Linked DNA regions of Homo sapiens: regions 2, 3 and 4 are each linked to region 1. The links are contacts of gene promoters, found by promoter capture Hi-C in human tissues and cell types (Jung and others, 2019). All regions are on one chromosome and are shown on one strand. Each heading gives the region's core, a stretch centred on a gene start or on the middle of the fragment in contact. The rest is flanking DNA. Distances are from core to core; before and after follow the strand shown. Region 1 holds the start of E2F8 (E2F transcription factor 8). Region 2 overlaps NAV2 (neuron navigator 2). Region 3 overlaps NAV2 (neuron navigator 2). Region 4 overlaps NAV2 (neuron navigator 2).

Evidence for each region. Contacts are between HindIII fragments. The study calls those that stand out against the background at their distance.
Region 2: a contact is called between a fragment that was not itself captured here and the fragment with the promoter of E2F8 in region 1, in 1 of the 25 tissues and cell types used here (aorta).
Region 3: a contact is called between a fragment that was not itself captured here and the fragment with the promoter of E2F8 in region 1, in 3 of the 25 tissues and cell types used here (IMR-90 fibroblasts, heart right ventricle and thymus).
Region 4: a contact is called between a fragment that was not itself captured here and the fragment with the promoter of E2F8 in region 1, in 1 of the 25 tissues and cell types used here (mesenchymal stem cells).

What each region holds. Positions count from the first base shown.
Region 1 is chr11:19,239,572-19,242,399 of GRCh38, forward strand. It overlaps E2F8 (E2F transcription factor 8), which reads right to left and starts at 1,374. Exons shown (of 13, transcript NM_024680.4): 1 at 977-1,374; 2 at 536-659. The coding sequence starts at 550. All of the region lies in intron 1 of CSRP3-AS1 (CSRP3 and E2F8 antisense RNA 1), which reads left to right. RefSeq lists a silencer at 1,444-2,143 and enhancers at 2,264-2,373, 2,579-2,828. The HindIII fragment of the contact is 7,308 bases long and covers 1-2,828 here.
Region 2 is chr11:19,890,734-19,893,561 of GRCh38, forward strand. NAV2 (neuron navigator 2) reads left to right here. Exons shown (of 38, transcript NM_145117.5): 6 at 1,701-1,861. Among named protein-coding and RNA genes, the nearest start is that of NAV2-AS3, 89 kb to the right of the region's middle. RefSeq lists an enhancer at 1,296-2,495. The HindIII fragment of the contact is 3,100 bases long and covers 1-2,828 here.
Region 3 is chr11:19,801,605-19,804,432 of GRCh38, forward strand. The region is part of intron 1 of NAV2 (neuron navigator 2); the gene reads left to right. Among named protein-coding and RNA genes, the nearest start is that of MIR4694, 43 kb to the left of the region's middle. The HindIII fragment of the contact is 6,637 bases long and covers 1-2,828 here.
Region 4 is chr11:19,781,757-19,784,584 of GRCh38, forward strand. The region is part of intron 1 of NAV2 (neuron navigator 2); the gene reads left to right. Among named protein-coding and RNA genes, the nearest start is that of MIR4694, 23 kb to the left of the region's middle. The HindIII fragment of the contact is 7,941 bases long and covers 1-2,828 here.

The DNA.
Region 1 (2,828 bases), core at 124-2,623:
ATTTGGTAAAAAATTATCTTAAAAAGAAATTCAGTCTCCAAACATGTCAAATGCCCTTTCTGAATTCCAAGTTGTTCAAGAATCCTCAGAAATGTTGTAATGAAACTAACGAATTTTTGAAGAGGGGTAGGTTTGCCCCTTTACACTCTTTCTAGTTTTTAATGATTTGGTAGCTGTCTCAGACATAAAGAGAGAAAAGGTATTTTTAAGAATAATAAAATTTGTTAGTTTCATTACAACATTTCTGAGGATTCTTGAACAACTGGAATTCAGAAAGGGCATTTGACATGATTGGAGACTGAATTTCTTTTTAAGATAATTTTCATTTTTTAAACTATATTAATTAAATTAGTATATATTTTAAACTATATATTTTTGAAACTATAAGATAAGGTTCATTTTTTCCAGGTCTTTACAGAGGCTAACCAAGGTTGTGGCATTAAGAAAACACATTGGATAGGGAAAAATTATGGAGTTAAATCAGGATGATACTGAATTTAAAATTGCAATGATGAATACTGAAGTTATAAAGTACCTTTTCGTTCTCCATTCTGTAAATTCCTCATACATTTAGAGTTTAAAAATGAAAAATCTGGAGTTCCTCCCCAAATCCCGATGGTTCAAGTAGTCCAATCAATTGTACTAAAAGTTTTAATATCCTTAAAGAAAAAAGGAAATAGAAAAAGTTAGAGAAAAACAAGAACCAAAAGATCTGTTGAAAATTCCTTCACGGACAAGAGGCTACGGAAACAAAGCCTAACGAAAAATGACAAACTAGATTTACATTTTATTCTCGACCAGAGATCGCCCCACTGAGCGGAGAACGCCAACAAATGCCAGTAAATTCCTTCAGCAAACGGATCGGCGGTCCTAAGACTTCAAGCAACCCACGGAATTTCTAGTGACAGCCCTCTCCCATCTGTAGAAAAGGCGAGCCATTCTCCGGACCCCAGCGAATACTTTAGGAAGCACCCACCTGTTCGCAGATCAGGGCTCCGGACTAAGCGCACGAGCCCAGGTCCCAGCTGAGCGCACGCGACCCCAAGTAACTGGGTACAAGTCTGCATCTAGATGCCTGGATTTCTCCCCTTACACACACGTGCACAGGCTCAGCAGTAAAGTCGTGGGAGGTCGCTTGACAGGAAAGTTCCAAATTCAGTCCCAAAGCTCCAAGTATGCAGTTGGGCATTTAAAGAGTCTTATAATTAAGACTTTTTTTTTAAATTTAAAAAAGGGCTTCCTTAAAGATACAAAGCACTATTTACTCCCTGTTCGGGTGGCCAGTTCACACCACGGCGTTAGACTCCACCTTGGAAGGCTGTATTTGCCCAATAAGGCAAGCAGGTACTGTCCCCCGGCCGCCACTCGCTCAGTGCACTTCCCCCAACTTTCGGCCAAAGGCCCCTCCCCCAGGCCCTGTCCGCCCGCCGCAGTCCCGACAGTTCCCGGACAGCATCATCGTGGTTTCCAGGACAACAATTCCCGACCAATCAGAGGGCCGGAAGCGGGCCTGCGATTGGCCGACGGCGCCAGGGGCGGGGCCGGACCTTCCGCCTTCGATTTAAAAATTTGGCGCGGAAAGTCGGACCGTGGCCGGCGCCTCCCCTTAGCTGCGCGGGGCCTGAGCGCGGGCAAACCCGCGCCCGGAACCACGGCAACCCCGCCCCTCCCCCTCGTTCGCCCCCGCCCCTCTGCGCGGGAGCTCAGCTCCTCCCTCACGGCCCCCGGCGAAGCGGGAGGCGGGAAACGGCCGCCGCCGCCGCCGCCGCCACCCTCCCGAGCCCTCTCCCGGTGCCGTGTCGCCCGGGCGCCGCGCCCCTCTGCGTCCCGCTGACCTGTCAGTCCACCTCACGGCGGGAGCCGGCGGGGGCTGAGCCGGGACTCGTCAGCACCGCTGCCCCTCTCAGGCCCGGGAGCCCGCGTACCTGGCAGTCAGTCTTTCCGCAGCGCCGAGGTGGGTGCCGGAGAGAGACGCCGGGACCGGGACTGGCGGGCCGGCTGGCGGGCAGAGGGAGCGTGACCGTCCAGGAGCAGCCAAGCCCCCGATTTGAAATTAACCCGCTCCCGGCGCGAGCCGATACCGCGGGCGGGGAGGGCCGCTCCCCTCCCCCACGCCCGCTCGCCCCGGCCCCGGCCCCCGAGCGCCAATCCGAGCCTCCCGACCGTAGCCGCCGGCGAATCGGTGCAGGCACCGCCCTCCACTCCCGCCTCTACGGCAGAGTTGGGGGAAAAGTTCAGCAACTTTTTTTTCCTTTTTTTTTTTTTTTGCATACACCCCCTCCCCTTGCTCAAAGTTGGGGAATAAAATTTGGCCCGTCCGGGGCTCGCGGGCTGGGCCGCAGGCGCCCTGCGATTCCCCGCTTGGGGCTATCTCACCCCTGCCCAGCCCCAGGCCGGCTCACCTGCCCTCGGACTCCAGCCGGACCTCTCCCCCTTGCACCCCTGGCATGCATGATTGTGCTGCCCACCGTCTGCCCCGTGCCTCGCAGAAACTGGCGCGAGGAGGGAGAAGCTTGGCTACTGGTGCCTAAGCTCCGTGGGCTCTGGGCCTTGGCCCAGCGGTGAGAACTCAGGTGTAGGAGGAAGAGGAGGAAGGCGGAAAACCCTCCAACCCTGTCCTCGCCGTCTTTCCTCAGGGTCTCCCACCCACTCCTCCCTTTCTCTTCCCTGTTGTCTTTCCCTCTTTTTCCGGTCTCCGAGCCTCAGGCAGCTTTAGCCTGGTTCCCTGTAGAGCCCTAGCAGGGTCGGGGAGACACTTCGATCCTTCGTCCTCACTTTGCAGAACGGGACACCGAGGCCCGGGGCGGCGGCGCTGCCTCGGCTGCACC
Region 2 (2,828 bases), core at 103-2,602, 650 kb after region 1:
CATTGGAAGCAGAACCAAGAGGTACTAAGATCCCACTGCTGGACCTCCTTGGCCAGATGTGCTAGCCACATCTGGTCCCCAAACACAGGCACTGGCACTGCTAGTATTTTGTACTCCGTTCTGTGCCTGTCTTTGTGGAGTGAATGTCCTCTCCAAAGGAGATGAGGTAAATTAACCAAGGTACAAATCCTCGCAGCACAGTGGGAAGTAATTCTCACTGCAACTTGTTGGGGGAAGAGCTAACCCCCTTCCTTCTCTCCCAGCTCCCAGTCAGGGAATTGGGCCAGCTTCTTTTTAACTATATAATTTTTACAGTCCCCTCACACCAGCTCATGTTCTCTGTTTACTCTACAACCATCTTTCTTGCCCAGCCAACAAGAAAAGTTTAAAGTGATTGCCTGCTTATATCTAAAATGCTTCCAGACTGTAGACTTCTTTGGTGCTTACAGATTTGCATGGAAAGAGAAGGCTGAAAGTTTTATGACTTGAAAATTCAGACTTGTCACTAGATCTAATGCTAGTCAGCTGAGGTTCCAGTGGCTTTTAAACACAGCTAAGTGGATTTCAAGCTGAAAGATATAACTAAACATTTCATCATTTATTCATCTTTCAACTTTAATTATTGGAAACAGCCTGCTTAGTAATTCCCTGGACCAAAATCCTGATTTGAGGAGTCTTACCATTAACTCTTTGGTGAATGGGCCATAATATCTTTAGACACATTATGGATGGTGACTTTATTTCCCAAGCCACCCAAAATGAGGTGTTTTATTTAAAGGGAGAGTGTGTGTTTGTCTTTAGGCCAACAAATTCCTGCCAGTTTTACAGGAAGAATATATGATGTTATCCATCTACTGTGCAGATAAGTTGTACTTCAGCCTCAAAATAATGCCTTTGGAGACAGGTCATCAGGTGTTGAAGGGAAATGTATGTGTGGGCAAGTGTTTCCAACCAACCTGAAGTTTTCATTGCAAATATGTTGGATTCTGAGTGGTAGTAATTCACCTTCTCACCACTATAAATTGTCCTTTTCTTGATACTTACAACCCCAGATTATGGCAAACAGTTTTTATACCTATCAGAAGAGATGCACACACAAGGTTATCAGTTTAGAATCCTCTGAGGGCTTTATGTTCCATGCTTGATAAAATTAGAAATGACTGGCTTGACCCTATTCAAAAGTAAAAATACTTATCCCAGAGGGAAAAAAAAAATGAACTTTGTTTTTGTTTTGTTTTGTTTTGAGTCAGGGTCCCACTCTGTCACCCAGGCTGGAGTGCAATGGCGTGATCTTAGCTCACTGCAACCTCTGCCTCCCAGGTTCAACTGATTCTCCTGTCTCAGCTTCCCAATTAGCTGGGATTATAGGTGCCCACCACCATGCCTGGCTAATTTTTGCATTTTTAGCAGAGATGGGGTTTTGCCATGTTGAACTTTGTATTTTTAATCCACAAACATATTTCTTCATCAAAATTTTTCTCTCTGCTCAAAGGGAAACTTCACATTTTGCTGTTGGACTTTGCTGGGGTCATTACTTGCCTACATGTTTGTAATGGTTCCACCAAATTCTGTGACTGGCAAACCTCCACACAATGTCTTGGATAGTTTCTTTTGCCTCCTGCATGGTTGCAGTTCCTTCTTCCTACACACTGTTATTCTTCTGAGACTGAATGCATTATCCTGTTGCTTTTGCATTTTAGACTTCCAGGTCCTACCGCGAGGGTATCCGCTGCAGGCAGCGAGGCCAAAACACGCGGAGGGTCAACTACTGCTAACAACCGACGCAGCCAGAGCTTTAACAACTATGATAAATCCAAACCAGTCACCTCCCCACCCCCACCGCCAAGCAGCCACGAGAAAGGTGAGTCACCTTCTTGAGGAGCCTTTTTGGTATTTTCCTTCAGAGCACATCTACCTAGTTCCTTCGGGTGAATTGGGTTGGGTCATGGGGAGGGGTTGCATCTGTGTTGAGAATGAGTTACAAGGACATATTTGGTAGGCAGGAACTTTAGTAGCCAGAGGTATTAATAAAGTGGGGGAAAATATTGTTATAGTCACTAGCAAAAATAATTTGCTATCTTTGTTTGGGTGGGGCCCCATAGACACCCGGCTATGCATAGAAGCAATATAGCATTTGGAATTTGAAAATAAATTTTCATGGAATATGTTCCATATATTAAGTAGTTTTTCAGAAATGCAAGCTTCTTGGAGCATGCATTTTGTGAACTGTGATAAGCTTTTTTATCCGTCAGAAATAATGTGAGGGGAGTTAGGAACAAGAGGTTTTTCACCCTTTGAAAAAGTCAGGAATGTGGATTGGCTCATTGAAGATCTTGGCTACATATAAGGAGTGGACAGCATTGCTCTAGGAGTTGTGATGATGTAACTTTTGCCATAAAAGGATATGGATTTTTTTTTTTTTTTTACTATACACAGTACTGAGTTTTTAGGATGGAGAAAAATAGTGAATAGTCCCATGGGGGTGCTGCCCAGAATGTAGTAAAACAAACCTTTGCTTGTTTCAGCCTCTATCTCTTGAGACATTGGAGAAACTAAGGTAGTTTCAAAGATTATTCAAAAAGAGGCAGAGCCTTCCTTCATTCCTTCTAGGCAAAGTAGTCTAGACATCTTTAGGAAATATGTCCAGGTCTCCTGGAAGCATTTCCTACCTGGTGGTGTAGAAGATTCCTAGGGCTGTCTACGTGGTGTTTCTCTATTTCCCTGACGTCCAGGAAAGCTGCCCCCTCACTCCCTAAAGTGCCCCAGGGACATGGGCAGCCCTCCTACTGTGAATGAGCTGGGAACCGCCGCCATTTTCTCCTCTAACT
Region 3 (2,828 bases), core at 179-2,678, 560 kb after region 1:
TCATGAGCCAGGCTAACACCATTGGGGACTACTTTCGGAGGATGTGGCTGAGCTGGAATCTGCCCCCATCTTCTGGAGGCACAGTGACAAAGAAGGGCAGTCTCTGGCTGAATCTGAGTTCAAATCCCGGCACTATCACTTACTAGCTCTGTAACCTTGGGCAAGTTACGTCACCTGTGAGCTCCTATTTTTTCAAAATGTGAAATTAAGAGGACAATAGTCTTGAACTCCCAGGGTTGTTGTGAGGATTCAGTGATAAGTGCATATAAAGCATGTAGTACGGTGTATGCCACATAGTGTGTGCTTAATAAGAGCTAAAATCATTGCTTTTATTTTAATAATTATCATTGCTGACCTTATCCATCATCACCCTTGTCCGGAGGAGAATAGCCAGGGTGGTGAGAGAACCAAAGCTTTGTTCTATGAAGAGTATTTATAGGAATTTGAAACTCTTTTATGATATTATGACTCGTGAAAGAGACACTATGCCACCTTTTATCTCCGAAGGGCTAGAAGGATTAATCACTGGGGGTCTTCACCAAACTGGGACCAAAATTCAATTCAGTGGGAGGAAGAGTTTTCTGAGATTAGTGTCAAATGGCTCTTATAGGAGGTCAGAAGGTCTTTACCCCTGGCAGTTTAGGGAAACTTGGCATGGAGCTTGTGCAAGGGATTCATGCATCAAGGAGGGGTGGGATTGGGCTAGAGGGCTTGGCTGGCCTCTTCCATTCCCAGAATTCTCTGATTCTGGGTTCCAGGAGCGCCTGTGCTCTTTTTTCTAAAGAAAGACTACCTAGAGGAATACGCCACACTGTATAGCAACTTTATGTGATTGCTGAGGCCTCCCCAGCCACCTGTGATCTGTGAACTGGCCTCTTGTTCTTGCATCTTTTAAATAAGTTAATGTCCATGCTCTTAATTTTGGTTTTGGATGAGTTATTATTTCTAGATACTTAAAGCAATTAGGCCTTATAGTGCCAGTATTGGTTAAGAATAGTACATCACCAAGGCAGGAGAATCACTTAAGGCCAGGAGTTTGAGGCTGCAGTGAGCTATGCTCATGCCACCATACTCCAGCCTGGGTGACAGAGTGAGACCCTGTCTCTCAAAAAAAAAAAAAAAAAAATTACACCAATGTTTTTTCATCCTGGAGAATGGTTTTGTGGGGATGAGAGAGTCGATGGGGACAGGCAATTTGCAGGACCTCTGCTCTCCCACACAAATCAGCCTTCTAGGAAAGCCTCAGATGCACAAATTTAGAATGTATTTTCTTTCCTAAGAAGCCATTAACCCTAACTAGGAAAAACAGACAGAGGGGAGCAGCTGCTTCCTCTCTGTTATAAACAGCCATTTTGATCACAGAGGCCTCCTTTCCATTCCTTTCCAGGTTTGTCATGTTCTTGCACAGAGACGGTTGTGTGTTCCAGGCTGGGGTTTATTTTTACCAGCAATACAGATGTTTCTGCTCTTGTGCAAAATTTCATTAAAGTTCAACCAGTGGTTTGCTGTGGGAGGAGGCTGCCAAGGTTAATATTTCTGCGATGTATTCCCTTCTGTTCATTCTTGGCACCAAAATATTCCCAGGTGGGCAGGTTGTGCTGGTGCTGTATATCAAAACTAAACAACAGAATCACCAGTTTATCTGTTGAACTCAGGTGGAGTCTCTGATCACACAGAGCGCATCAGCTTTGTCTTGAAAATGCAGGCAGGGAGATACTCCCTCTGGTGAGTATCTGCTCACCCTTTAATGCCCTTTAGCAGAGAACGCCTCACACTGCAGAGGTTACCTTGGGGGCCAAGAAAGCATTTGGCAGCATGAAATGCTACATCCTTCCACTTTCCCACTGAAATGGTGGGAGCAGAGCTTCAGATATGTGTTCAAATCCTGTCTGTGGCTTAGGCAAGTTACTTACCTCTGTAGAGTGTCAGTGTCTTCATCTGCAAAATGGAATTAGTCATCCCTGCCTCAAAGGATATTGTGAGGCTTCATTGAGATGCTGCATATAATTAATTGAGATAGAGCAGAATGCCCTGGGGCAGGGAAGATGCTTGTGAGAGGAAACTGTTAAATGAGCACTTGGGGGATTCCCCCAATGGTAGAGGATAATGTATAGTCCAGGGAAGCCCCTCATTCTTCTCCCTGCTTTTGCAATGGAAAAATTCTGCATGCAGCAGAACCAGTTCTTCTACCTGAGAGCTTGAAAAAGGCAAGTTAAAAGTAATAGCAATCTGACTTGTTTGACGTGTGTTTCCTCTGCCTCGCCCCATCTGTGGCTTATCGAATTGGAAAGTGGTCAAACAAACATGGCCCTTGTCTAGGAACAATTGGCAAGGGTAGGGTAGAGCTTGAAAGGGGTGTGGCTAGGATTAAAGGTGAGACAAAAGTGATATGGTATAAGGTGATCTGTGGCCAATTTGCTTAATGACTTTTACTACTTACTTTCTGAATCCAGGTCTACTCATTAGGTCAGTGAGAAGAGCCAGACCTCATGCACTAAAGAGAGCAGGTGTGTGTGTATGTGTGTGTGTCCTTCAGGTCTCTGCAGATTTGTAGGGTCATCTGGTTAAAAATAGATAATGTTCATACTCGTTTTATAAGTCTCCATTGAAGAAGGGAATATGGACAAAATTATTCATTTTCAATTACAACGTCACCAAACGTATGTCTAGTTATTTAGGATTATTTTAATCAGTACTCTTTGTAAGCTATCCCTCTCACATACCTCAGTGCAGTGGCAATTACAGTTCCCAACCCCAAGTCTTGCAAGGTATCTAAGTGCTGAATGAATCATCAACAAGAGACAGTCTTTTTTAGTCCATTTGAAATG
Region 4 (2,828 bases), core at 139-2,638, 540 kb after region 1:
AGCTTTTTTTTTTTTAATCCCTAACTTTATGGAGGCTTAATTGCCAAATAAAAATTGTATATATTTAAGGTGTACAGTGTGATGATTTGATCTATGCATACATTATGAAATGATTCCCACTATCAAACTAATTAACACATCCATCAGCTTGCTTCAGCTCTTTACACGTATAGACTGATTCCCATCTTAACAACTTCCGTTTTTTTTCCTGACTAAAGCTCATTAACACTCACATGAAAGTATTACCACCTTCAGCTAGAAAACAACGGTCATTTCCACTCTCAGGGACTTCTAGGACTTTCTCCTGCTTTCCACTAATTGTAACTGGCATAGATTTGACCATCTCCCAGGTACTGAAGTCATGTCCATTTTCTACTAATTCCCCAAAATCTCAAGGGCAAGAAGTTCCATTCTTTCCTTGAGAAAGCAGGTTGGAATATACAGGAATAGTTCCATATGCATTTCCGCTGTGGGTAATGAGCCCTCATAGCCTTGATGTACTTTCCTGAATTGAAACCAAAGCATGTGAGGAAGGTTTTGACTTTGGTTAATTACTAGGAAAATAAAGAAAGGAATATTGGGAGGGAAGGAGAGAAAGCCTCTGAAATTAGTAAGTGACTTCCTCTTAATGACATTTTGAGGTAACACATTTTCCTTCATTTTTGTGTTAATAGAGAAGTAGAGATTTATAATTGGTCCCTTTGGTGACCTGGCAGTGCTTACATTACTTATGCAATTGTTTTTGTTTTTGTGTGAAGCCAGGGAAAAAAATTGTTTTGTTTCTGGCTCCTGTAATGTAATGCCAGCCACCCAGAAGGCATGTGGCTAAGCTTTTCTTCAGGGTCTCTAAGACTCTCCAGGACACATGGACCAGGCTGCCATTGTCTTTCCAGCTGCCAGCCCAGAGATCTGGGCTGGGTGACCCAGGTGCTGTTCCCAAGGGTTGTTCTTTTTGATTCAGAGATTGTTACAGAAATGCTGTTTCTAATATAAGAGCAATAGCCAGGGAGGTGGAAAGGCAGTGGAAGAGCCTGACCTCCCACTAAGAATGGGTGTTAGAGTGAAGGGTTAGAATGAGTTGACAGATATTGTTTAAACAGGGTAACAAGAAGGTGTGATGGAGATATTTGGCTGGGCTGAGATGTAGTCGAGGATTGCCCTTGTGACCAGAAATAATATGTCTGGTTATAACACTGTGGAGTGGGACAAGGGTAAGCACCTGCATTATACATTATCTTTGTCATAGTGAGAGATGAGCTGTGTGCTTGCTGGGAACATGATAGGTCCTGTGGCACAAATGAATCTATAGGAAAGCAAGGCACTTTAAATGGGATTTATCAGCTCCAGTATGTTTACTGGGCTTAGGAAGGTGTGTATGTCTGTAGAGGGTCCAGGAGTGAGTCTTTTGTTTCACAGCTATAGCTTTGCCTATTTTTCTAGCATTGTTCCCGATGTGAAGTTTCAGGATTCAAGACTACTGATTTCTCGTTCCAACCTTTGTGGGATCCAGTCCATTGGTGGATGAAGTCCAACTCCTTTGTGGGATTCAAGGCCTTTTAGATGATAGCAGTGTTTTAGGTCTTCTTCAGCAGAGCTTCCACATAGAACCTGTTAGTTCCAATCAGCATGGTTGGCCTGGTGATATTCCAATTTCACGCTTCTTCCATCTCTCCATGTTATCACCCCATCCTTTTGAAGCTCAGATTGAGTCCCCTTTTTTTAAGAAGCCCTCCCTGACTTCTTAAAAGGAGGGCTTTTAAGCCCTGACAGGCAGTAGTATGAACCCTCGTCTGATTCTCTAAGTCCTTGAGCTGCTGGTGGATGTGGTATCTTTGCTATCAGACTTTGAACAGTGGCTTCATGCATAGATACTGGGGATAGTCAAACCCCCCTTCCCTCCTAGCTCTGCCAATGATCTGTGCAACCTGGGGAGAATATTGCTTTATTTCTCTGAGCCCCAGTTTCTTCATCTGTAAAATGATGATGATGATAATCATTCCAAATTCAAGGTTGTTAGGGTTGTTTAGTAAGATACAGGTATTCAGAGCAGCATCCAAGCACATAGTAAATGCTCAATAAATGTTAGCCATTGTTATAATGATAATGATCATGATGTTACCTTAATTCATCCAACACATTTATGAAACATCTTCTAGGAACTAGGGAATATATGAGTCAACAAAAAAGTTTCATACCTATATTTTACTGGAAGAAAGAGATAATAAGCAAAACATGTTACTTTTTATGGTGATGAATGCTATTATATTAAGAAAAATATAGCAGGGTGAGAAGGATAGGGAGGAATGGTGGAGGTTACCTTTAATGTAGGATGGTTAAGAGGGGCTTTATTGGCCAGTCGCAGTGGCTTATGCCTGTAATCCCAGCACTTTGGGAGGCTGAGGTGGGCAGATCACCTGAGGTTGAGAGTTCAAGACCAGCCTGACCAACATGGAGAAACCTCGTCTCTACTAAAAATACAAAATTAGCTGGGCATGGTGGCACATGCCTGTAATCCCAGCTACTCAGGAGGCTGAGGCAGGAGAATCGCTTGAACCCGGGAGGTGGAGGTTGCGGTGAGCCAAGATGGCACCATTGCACTCCAGCCTGGGCAACAAGATCAAAGCTCCATCTTAAAAAAAAAAAAAAAAAAAAAAAAAAAAGAGGGGCTTTATTGCAAAAGTGACATGAATATTGTATAATAATAATAGTAATTATTATTATTATTATTGACACTCCTTAGGTATTATACCAGGTGACTGTATAGTTTATTATCCCAACCAAGATACTTCTGAGAGTGAAAGGGAGTACTAATGATAATTGCATTCCCT